2 separate regions of the Homo sapiens genome follow, and region 2 is linked to region 1. The links are contacts of gene promoters, found by promoter capture Hi-C in blood cells and fetal thymus (Javierre and others, 2016). All regions are on one chromosome and are shown on one strand. Each heading gives the region's core, a stretch centred on a gene start or on the middle of the fragment in contact. The rest is flanking DNA. Distances are from core to core; before and after follow the strand shown.

What was found. Contacts are between HindIII fragments. The CHiCAGO score rates a contact against its expected background, and 5 or more counts as called.
Region 2: a fragment that was not itself captured here is called in contact with the fragment with the promoter of CPA6 in region 1 in 1 of 17 cell types (M0 macrophages); the score reaches 5.4 in M0 macrophages.

The regions. Positions count from the first base shown.
Region 1 is chr8:67,744,042-67,748,924 of GRCh38, reverse strand. It overlaps CPA6 (carboxypeptidase A6), which reads left to right and starts at 2,565. Exons shown (of 11, transcript NM_020361.5): 1 at 2,565-2,911. The coding sequence starts at 2,796. RefSeq lists an enhancer at 2,239-2,739. The HindIII fragment of the contact is 5,003 bases long and covers 2,396-4,883 here.
Region 2 is chr8:68,385,123-68,390,005 of GRCh38, reverse strand. All of the region lies in intron 1 of C8orf34 (chromosome 8 open reading frame 34), which reads right to left. Among named protein-coding and RNA genes, the nearest start is that of C8orf34-AS1, 56 kb to the right of the region's middle. The HindIII fragment of the contact is 2,697 bases long and covers 948-3,644 here.

The DNA.
Region 1 (4,883 bases), core at 1,316-3,815:
ATTTGCTAAATGGACTCCATTTATCTCTCATTTTATGGGAGCTTATCTACTCCAAGAGAAGTTTGATCAGATAACCTGGTCCTTAGTAAAACAGAGAATGATTGCTAGGTATGGCTTCTATTGTTTGAGAACCTCTCTTTGATCTGAAATTTTTAGGAAGGTTACAGGATGTCACCGGAGTTTCTGGCATTTTTGATGGTCCAGGAAATGATTCCTTTGGTCTCAGAGTCTGGAGAGCCTCTGCCGAACATGCTTGCGGGATCCAATCCTTCAGAATGATTTGAGGATGAGTTTAATTCTCAGTCAGAGACTGAACATTCCTAGTTTAATGTTGTGATATAATATGACAGATTTATACATTGTTCTGACATAGCGAAATGCAAAGAGATGAAGTGTTTTATTTACACAGTAACCTCTTATTTCCACAGATCATTGGCTTTCCTGGGCTCATCTAAAAGGCCTGTGAGTACTGCTGTGAGTCTTGCAGAGCAGCCTGACCAGTTTAGGAAGACAAAAGTACAAGGCCAGGAAGTCAGGAAAGAAGGCAACATAAAAAAGAAACGAAACCAGACATGATCACCCGGGGAACTTCCACTCTCCAAAAGCACCCATAGTGTTCTCTGCTCCCAAGGTGCTCTCTCCTCTATCTGGACACAGAAGCATCTATGTTAATGTTTGTTAAATGAATTTCTTCCCTGGTTCATCGTTCATCCAACAGACATCGTTGATCACTCCTTCAGGAAACATTGTATTCCCTCGAGGAGGTATAAGGAAGTGCACAGGAAGACCAAAAGGATACAGTTCTGTATTCAAGGAGAAAGCAGCCTCATGAGGAAACCAGACAAGAAATTTGATGTGGTAATTCCTACAGTAGAGGACATGCCAGGATTTGTGAGGGACACAGAGGAGGCATTAACCAAACTGATGCTGAGAAAGTTGCAGAAAAATTCAGAGCATCATTTCAAATGAAAACCATTTCAGCTGTTTCATGAACCTGACATTGAATCTGTCAAAGGAGTTTTGGTTCAACTCCCCAGGTAGAGAAGATGGGAAAGATTGGGTGCTCTCTCTTCTAACAGGGACTCTGGCTATAGTATTAGAGGGTACAGGAGTTCTTGGCTATGACTCTCCAGGAAGCCTGAAAAGTTTTGTGAGTGTGATGAGGAAATAGTGGCTCACTCTCTGTTTTAGAGCACAACCAGGACTGGGCATGAAAGGTAACAGGAGGCACCCTAGGTGCCTATGCTTATTTAATAGGGCGAGGCACATCCCCTGTAATGGGTTTTGTGGCGTATTGGAATAGGAGCAAGTGGATGCAAATAATAATTTTAAAAAGCTTTCATCATCAACATGGGAAAAAAGAGAAGGAAATGGTTTTCTCCAAGGTTTGCTTGGAAGAAAAAGCAGACCTCATTCTAAAGTGAAGTCTTGCTACTCCAAGTGTGGCTGAAGAGCCAGTGGCACCAGCATCACCTGGAAGCTTCTTTAGAAATGCAGACTCGGCCAGGCGTGGTGGCTCACACCTGTAATCCCAGCACTTCGCAAGGCCGAGACAAGCAGATTGCCTGAGGTCACGAGTTCAAGACCAGCCTGACCGACATGGGGAAACCTCGTCTCTACTAAAAATACAAAAATTAGCTGGGCGTGGTGGTAGGCACCTGTAATCCGAGCTACTCAGGAGGCTGAGGCAGGAGAATCGCTTGAACCTGGGAGGCGGAGGTTGCAGTGAGCCGAGATGGGGACTTGGCACTCCATCCAGCCTGGGCAACAAGAGCGAAACTCTGTCTCAAAAAAGAAAAATAAAAACTCTTAGGCCCCTGTTCCAACCTACGTCAGAGCTGCAGTTTAATGAGATCCCCAGGTGACTTCTATGCATGTGGAGCTCTGAGAAGCCCTGCTCCAGACCAGCATGGTGGTTGAATATTGGAATCACCTAAGGAGCTTTTTAAACCACTGATCCCACCACCACGGTTTCTATTTTCAAGGTCTGGCTCCCTAAATGATTCCAAATGTACAGCCAAGGTGGCAAAGCACTCGAAGGCCTCCTATTCCCCACGAGAACCTCTGAAACAGCAGCAGGTCTGGGTGCTGCTGATGCAGAATGAGTACCAAGATCTCCCTGAAGCCCAATAAAGCCACTGACCACTCCTGTAAGTCAGGAGCAGTGAACTGAAGCCAGCTGTTCGGATCTGGGTGCTATAGGTACCCCCGTGCACGTTCTCATCATGATTGTTCATTGTGCATTTCATTAGGTGGAATCCGTTTAGGAATCTGTCATGGGAGATCAAAAAAACATTAAGCTTGGAATAATCCATGTCTGCTTGTTTAGCCCATCAGACAAATCATTTGCAATTAGGTAGGATCCTCATGCTGAAGAAGATAGAGAAAGAAAGCTTGCACAGAAAAGTTAGAGGCCTCAAGTTGGGAAAGCAAACAAACCAAAAGCAGAGAGGAGTCACCCAAAGGAAGCAGCACCCAGTGAACCCCTGCCGTGAGTCAGCACGAGGGAGGCCCAGCCCTTTCTAGGGGAGCCTGATTAAAGATCAGGCTCAGCTGCTGCTGCTGCTGCTGCTGCTTGTCCCAAGACCAAGTCGTAATAGCAACTTCCCTTCCTCAGCTGCCTGAACTTTTTTTTTCCCTTGTAGCTGGAGAGAAGTGTCACATTTTGCTCACTCTCAACCTTCCTCGCCCACCCCCTTCCCGGAGAACCTGTGCGGTGTGTAGAGGGTGCTGTGAGCCACCTCCAGCCTCGGGTGGCTGCTTAAGTAACTTTCAACTCCTCTCTTCTTAACACTATGAAGTGTCTCGGGAAGCGCAGGGGCCAGGCAGCTGCTTTCCTGCCTCTTTGCTGGCTCTTTTTGAAGATTCTGCAACCGGGGCACAGCCACCTTTATAACAACCGCTATGCTGGGTAAGTGGAGCGACATTCATGCCCTACACAGCTTTGATTTGGATCTGGGGGCTGGTTTGCTCCAGAGTGTGCCTCACTTTTTCTGATTTGGGGGTCTCTGAGTGAATCTGCACACTTTCACGGTCCTCTATATAAAATGTACTCACAGCTCTCTGCTCTTGGCTTTAGCTCACTGAGAGAATGTGGTGGGCTCCAACCTGGCTTTTTATACTTTTTATCATGTGCCAACCTTAGCTGTGGACCCAGGGTTGAATGGGATTCTGTCTTTGGAGTAGCCATGGTCAGTATTTACAGTGTTTGCCTTGGTTGATGCTTGGGGATGCTGTTGTCCTACATGATTTATGACCTGAAAACTAAGCCTTTCTTTACAATTGTATGTAGGAGCGGTGGGTTGAAATTCATCAGTGATTAAGAACTGAGTGTGATTTTTTTTTTGTCTGTGCTTATTAGTCTGTAGAGTGGTTATTAGATTTTTAAATATGAGCAATGCAAATGATTCAACTCAAAATAAGCAGAATAAAAGTAGTCAACTGTAAAATTATGGATAGTTTTTCTGAAGGAAAAACATAGGAGTAAAACAATCAGTTTTGTCCCCCCTCCGTAGGTAAGCATGCTTTCTATATGCCTTTCTTCAGGAGGCAGAGGGCTGGAAGCCGTGTGTTACTATGCACATTCTTATTATCCTGAAGGCTTGCTGTGGTATAGACAGCATGTGATTTGCTCACATATGCAGGGGGTCGTTCTTAGAATCTGGAAATTATGGCTTGCCTGCACTTTAGATCTGGAAAAACCTTAAATACTTCCTCTAGTTCAATTCCTTTTTACAGAGGAGTAAACTCAGTGTCTTACATATTTTTAAATAGGCTACTATCATTCAATAATCACCACCTGAGAAAAGTTTTCATGTAGATCTGGATCATGACAAGGTAGTGTACAGTGTCTTAAAACCAAGTTGTTCTTTTTAGAAATAGTGTAAAAGAGAATTTGTAAGTGTGACCCTGGAAAAGAGAATTGTATTTCTCTTTCTCTCCCAAAGAATCTTGGCACTGCCTTTAGGGTTCCTCTGAATACAGTGCTTACAGAGGAAATTTTGGAAACATGTCCTCAGTTTTAGGGGAGGCAGGATGAGATGGAGGTGTTGGCTGAGGTAGGGGCTATAGATGGCAATATGATCACGGATTTTTCCACCCCAGTATTTCTGGGAGGAACGGAAAGGAGTTAACATCCCAGGGCTGCCTTTTGGCCTGGACATACAAGATCTCAACTTTACCTCCGATAATTTGTGACCCCTTTAGAGATCTGGAAAAAAGAAGCTCATGTTTAAAGACTGATGGTGCAGGCTTGGGTTGTGGGGGACTTAATTCTGACTCTCCTGGCTGATGCCGGGTCAGATGATAAACATAGATCACAGATTTAGACACACGTGTATGACCTAAGACCTCACTCCTCCACTCAGCTGTGGCTCTGTGCATAATTATTTCAGCGTGTGGCACTCCTCCGTGAAAAGTTACCAGGCCTGCTTCAGCTGAGCAGGTGTGCACCCTTCCCTAAGCACCACTTTGAAGAGGAAATGAGGCCAGTGGTGGCACCCTTTTCGTATAGAATTTGTAGCGACTGGAACCCTTCAGGAAAAAGTTTCATTACCTTCTCTGTTTTCAGCAATGGACATAATAATTGCTATTTTCTCTTCAGTTGCTACATAAGTTAATCCCAAGTGTATAAATTACCAGATGTCTAAGAGTAGGAGGGAAGAAAAAGATGAGAGAATGAAAAGAAGTGAGTCTCACTCAACCATTGCAATACAAGCCTAGAGCTTCTTTAAAAGCAAAAATATTTCTGAGCATATTCACTGTTAAAAATGGGGAATTCTACCTTCATTAGACATGTCATTTTCTCATCGCAAAAGACAGAAATGCTGCTCAGCTTTGAGAATGTTTTGCTTTGTTTACTCCAAAACTACTTTCTGCAAGTT
Region 2 (4,883 bases), core at 1,047-3,546, 640 kb before region 1:
ACCCCTTCAAGAGTAACTGCAGCTCACCAAAATGCTTACTCACATGCTTAATACATAACACCTTAGAAAAGAGGTCAAAAGAAAAGTGGTCATCGTTAGGATTATGTAAGCCTAAACATAATTTTCATCTAAAGAAACCGTCCTTGAACTAGATTTTGCTTTCTGTGAAAAGCAAATATATTTCTCCCCAGATAAGTTCACTAAGGCTTTCAAAAGTAAATAGAAAAGAAATCGTCAAATCATCTCATATATATCAAAAAATCACCTTCTTTTATTTGCTCGCACCTTCAGGTTTTTAATTTGTAACCTCTTGGCTGAAGAAGTGTCCAAGTGTCTAATAAATTCTGAGTTCCTAAGCAACAATTTGAAAAGATAGTCACCCATGCCCTTTACAATATGATAATTACAAATTAAATCCCTGCCTCTTAACAAGGGAGGCTAATGTACCATGTGGATAACAAGTATACTTAGGTGTTGTAGGTGCTTAAAATGTGCCCATAAGTAATCATCGCAATGCCTTCCAATCATCTATTTCATTCCATCTACCATGATCTCTCCTACATGCACTGGGATGATTCTTATTTTTTTGTACCTCACATTTGAGTAGCACTTAATAGCATACATAGCACTTATATATATGATGCCCCATTTAACTCTTGGCAACTATGCAAGTATTATTCTCATCACCACATCACAGATGTGGAAAGTAAGAGCCTGTCCAAGAACATAGATCATGAAGCAAAACTGACATGGAAACCAGGTCTTTGAACTTTATAATTGCCCACTTACTGTGCTTTTTATTCAATATATAACAGGCTCCATGAGGACAATATTTTGCTCACTATTCTATCTACATTTTCTAGCAGAGACAGGAGATTTAATGAATCTCTGCAAAATGAATGCATACAAAAATACGAATGCCAGACCCTACTAGCAATAATAAAGCTTCAATTCACTGAATACTTCCTGGGTAGCATACCTTGTAATCCATATTTTTGCACACATTCTTCATCAACTGACAATACAAAAGAGTTGCAGTACAGTTATGTGACAGAAAAGGCTAACGAGAAACTTATATCACTCATGTAAAACTCAGCTTAGGGCAGTTGTTCTCAAAATGTGATCCCTGGACCAGCAGCATCAGCATGTTGGGAAACAGAAATGCAAATTTTGGGGTACCACTTTACATCTACCAAATTATTTTTACTACTCTAAATAGTCTTAAACACGGTCTTGTTATTTTACCCCTCTATAACATGGCTTTGACTACTTTGTGTTTTGGCACTGGGCAACTGATCTGTATCAAGAAAGATCAACTTACAAAAGTAACTTGATGAATATCCACTTGTTCATTTCTTTTGATGAATATCCACTTGTTCATTTCTCATCAGATGAGTATCATGATGCCATATTGCCTCAGGCTGGCTAAACTATGTGTGTGAGTTGAAGGGGTGGGGGAAAAGTGGAGGAGAAGGGGAGATAAAAGTCCATATTCCTAAGGAGCTTAAGACTAATAGGAGATTTTTTAATAGAAGAGAAATTTTTGTATCAAAATGCATACCATAATGACATAGAAAGTGGTTACATGTACTTTACATGTCAGAAAAGGGGTGATTCTCAGCTAGCTGAGGTGATCAGGCAAGAATTTTCATGAACTCTAGAGAAGGAAAGCTATGTCAGACTCCACTGGGGCTCTGCAGAAATACACAGAGACTAAACAGCTTAAGGACTGAGTTTGCCAAATACAAAATATTAGTAATTGCACTTTATCCTAAAACTCTTCATACAGGCTTTGTGAAGAATATTTCCATGGAAAACAGTGAGTAAAGAGTGGGTAAACGGTAAATTGAATGTCTGTTTTATCTGGAATAAGACCAAAATTGGTCTTGGGAACAAAAACCAGAAGCAATCTTCATGGAATTCATAATTGGAAAAGATCAGTGGAAAATTACCACCAACAACAGAAGGCAATCAAGAACCACTGTAACACAACTACCATGAAATGCACACTCAGTGCTAATCAGTAAGTAGCTCCCTAAGCAGCAGTGAAGTCCTGCAACAAGAGAAGACAGCTCAAGTTTGAAAGCAAGTAAATACCTTTTACTAACTCAGGTGGATGAAGGGAAATAACATTATTTATCAAAATTTACATATATGCTAAATAAAGAAAAAAACACTGTAGAGTTGTCACATTCATGCTCTATTACCTATTTTGTATTTGTTTTAGATTTCAATAAATGATGAGATAGGTAGATCAAAGAATGAGCTATTTTGACTACTTTTGGCTCTGCACAAACATTAAGAATGGTTTTCTACGAGGTTTTTTTCTTTTTTTCAGACACACAGTGCTATGAAGGAAACTCTTTTGCCTATGGTAAATCTCCATCCATTTCTGTATCTTCTTCCTTAGGAACTTGGTGTCTATTCATGACTCTATCATCCTCTCCACCAGCATGGCTGCTCCTTCTTCCTCTATTTGTAAGGAAATTAACTTTATCTTTTTAATCCATATTTGAAACTTCAGGATCATCCTTGCCCATACCTCACACTCTATAACTATTCAATTATACTTCCTATTTAATAGTCCTCACCTGCTGCCTCCTTTCCCAGGTCCACTTAACCATCACCCTAGGTTAGGTCATCATCATTTCTCTGCTAGTAATAAATGCTAACTAATACCTTACACATCCCAGTCACCCCACACACCACCATAAGATGTATCTTCCCAAAGTGGCAATTTGACATGCACTCTCCTACCCAAATGTCATTAGTGATACTCACTTGCCTAACAAAGTTAGTACCCACTTCCTGCCTGACACTGAAGTCGGTCCATGTGCAGAATAAGGCTACTGCCCATCACCACCTTTCACCTTCCTCCCACACATGCACCATGAGCCAGATACACCAAACTACTTCTCCAAGAAAACACTGCATGTGGGTCTCCATCATGCCCATCTTTGTATCATGCCATCCTTCAGCTTGGAATACCTCAGTTAAAATACATTTGCATTTTAGCAAGAAACTTAATGCCTTTCCCTAAAGCAGTAGTTATTAATTTGTGGTGATTTTGTCCTTCAGGGCACTTTTGGCAATGTCTGGAGACTTCTTTCATTGTCACGGCTGGGGGAGGGCTATTTCTGGCATCTAGTTGGTAAAAGCCAGCAATGCTGCCAAACATCCTACAGTGCCCAGGACAGCTCCCACAGCAAAGAATGATCTGGTCCAAAATGTCAGCAGAGCTGAGGTTGAGCAACCCTGCTCTAATGCTGTACACAGCGTGGGCGTCTAAAGGTCTGCAGAAGTCCTAGTGGTAAAAGGTATTTTGAAAGAAGAAGAAAATCCCTTAATATTTCTCAAATCATAACACAGATCTAAGCAGAACTAGCAGTTACCCAAGGACAGCTTCTTATGTCATAGACACTTAGGAGGTTATAGAAGAAAAGACAACCCATGCAATGTTTAAACAGTTAATATCATTAGGATGGTATTACGTTGTTTCCACCTATAGATTCTAGCTTTGTCTCCTGAACAGATACAGAATAAATATATGTTTTATACAACAGCCTTTCATATATTTGAAATATATGTGCTATTCCCCTTAAGTCTTCCTTCTTAAGGTTAATATTGCTAAATACTTCAAAGCTTTTTTATTATGCTAGTCATTGTAGAAATGACCATTGCATTTGGAATATTCTAAATTAAATGCTGAACTTCAGATTTATCCCTATAAAGCTTCATATTATTCATGCCAAGTTCAGGCTCTGTTTTGTTTTGTTTTAATGTATTTCAAAATAAATAGGCCGGGTATGGGTGGCTCACACCTGTAATCCCAGAATTTTAGGAGGCCGAGGTGTGAGGAATGCTTAAGCCCAGGCATTCAAGATCAGCCTGGGCAACACAACAAGACCTCATCTCTATAGAAAGTCAAAACCTTAACCAAGTGTGGTGGACTAGTGGGCCATGCCTGTGGTCCCAGCTACTCTGGAGGTAAAGTAGGAGGGTCACTTGAGCCCAGGAGGTTGAGACCACAAAGAGCTATTACCACGCCACTACACTCCAGTCTGGGCAACAGTGAGAAATCCTGTCTCAAAAATAAGTAAATAAGTAAAATAAAGCTGATTTTTCATCATCTAGGTTTTTGGTAAAAATACTGAACAGGCCATGTTCTGGCACTAGCAAACAACTAGGGACAGTCCTCCAGGCTCATACCAATCATCAATCCATCCTCATGGGCAGGGGGATTCAATAAGATCCAAATGGCTGCACTATCACTAATTCCACATTTCTCCATCTTATACAAATCTGTGTTGTGTATATGAAAGGCTTTTCCAATTGTCTGGAAAAAAAATCTCAGATAAGCTATGTTTCCTACATGGATCTTATCTGTGAGCCTGGTTATCTTATCAGAAGCAAAGATTAAGCTGGTGTAGAATGATTTGTTCTCATTAAACTCACACTGGATTCAATGGAGCATATATCTCACTCACTGTTTTTTATTATTCAACATTTAATCACAAATTGTATAATTTTATTATAGGTCAATTAATCTTATCTTCTGTTGATTCCAGAATATACCTAGTTTTCTATGTTGAAAACTAAAAATGCTATTCCTGTTTCCAGTGTTTAGGCACATCTGTCAGCTTGGCAAGTATAGTGTGGGGATTGAGAGCATGAATACTGGTATCAAAGTATGTGGGTTTGCTACTTTGTTCCTCCATTTGTTTGGTGTGTGACCTTGGACAAGTTTCTTAACCTCTCTGTGCCTCCATGTCCTTATCACTAAAATGAGGCTGACAAAATTACCACATAAGGTTGAGGTAAGGATCAAATAATACCCAGTGCTTAGACCGTGACTGTCACATAGTAATTGTGGTGAGGTATTG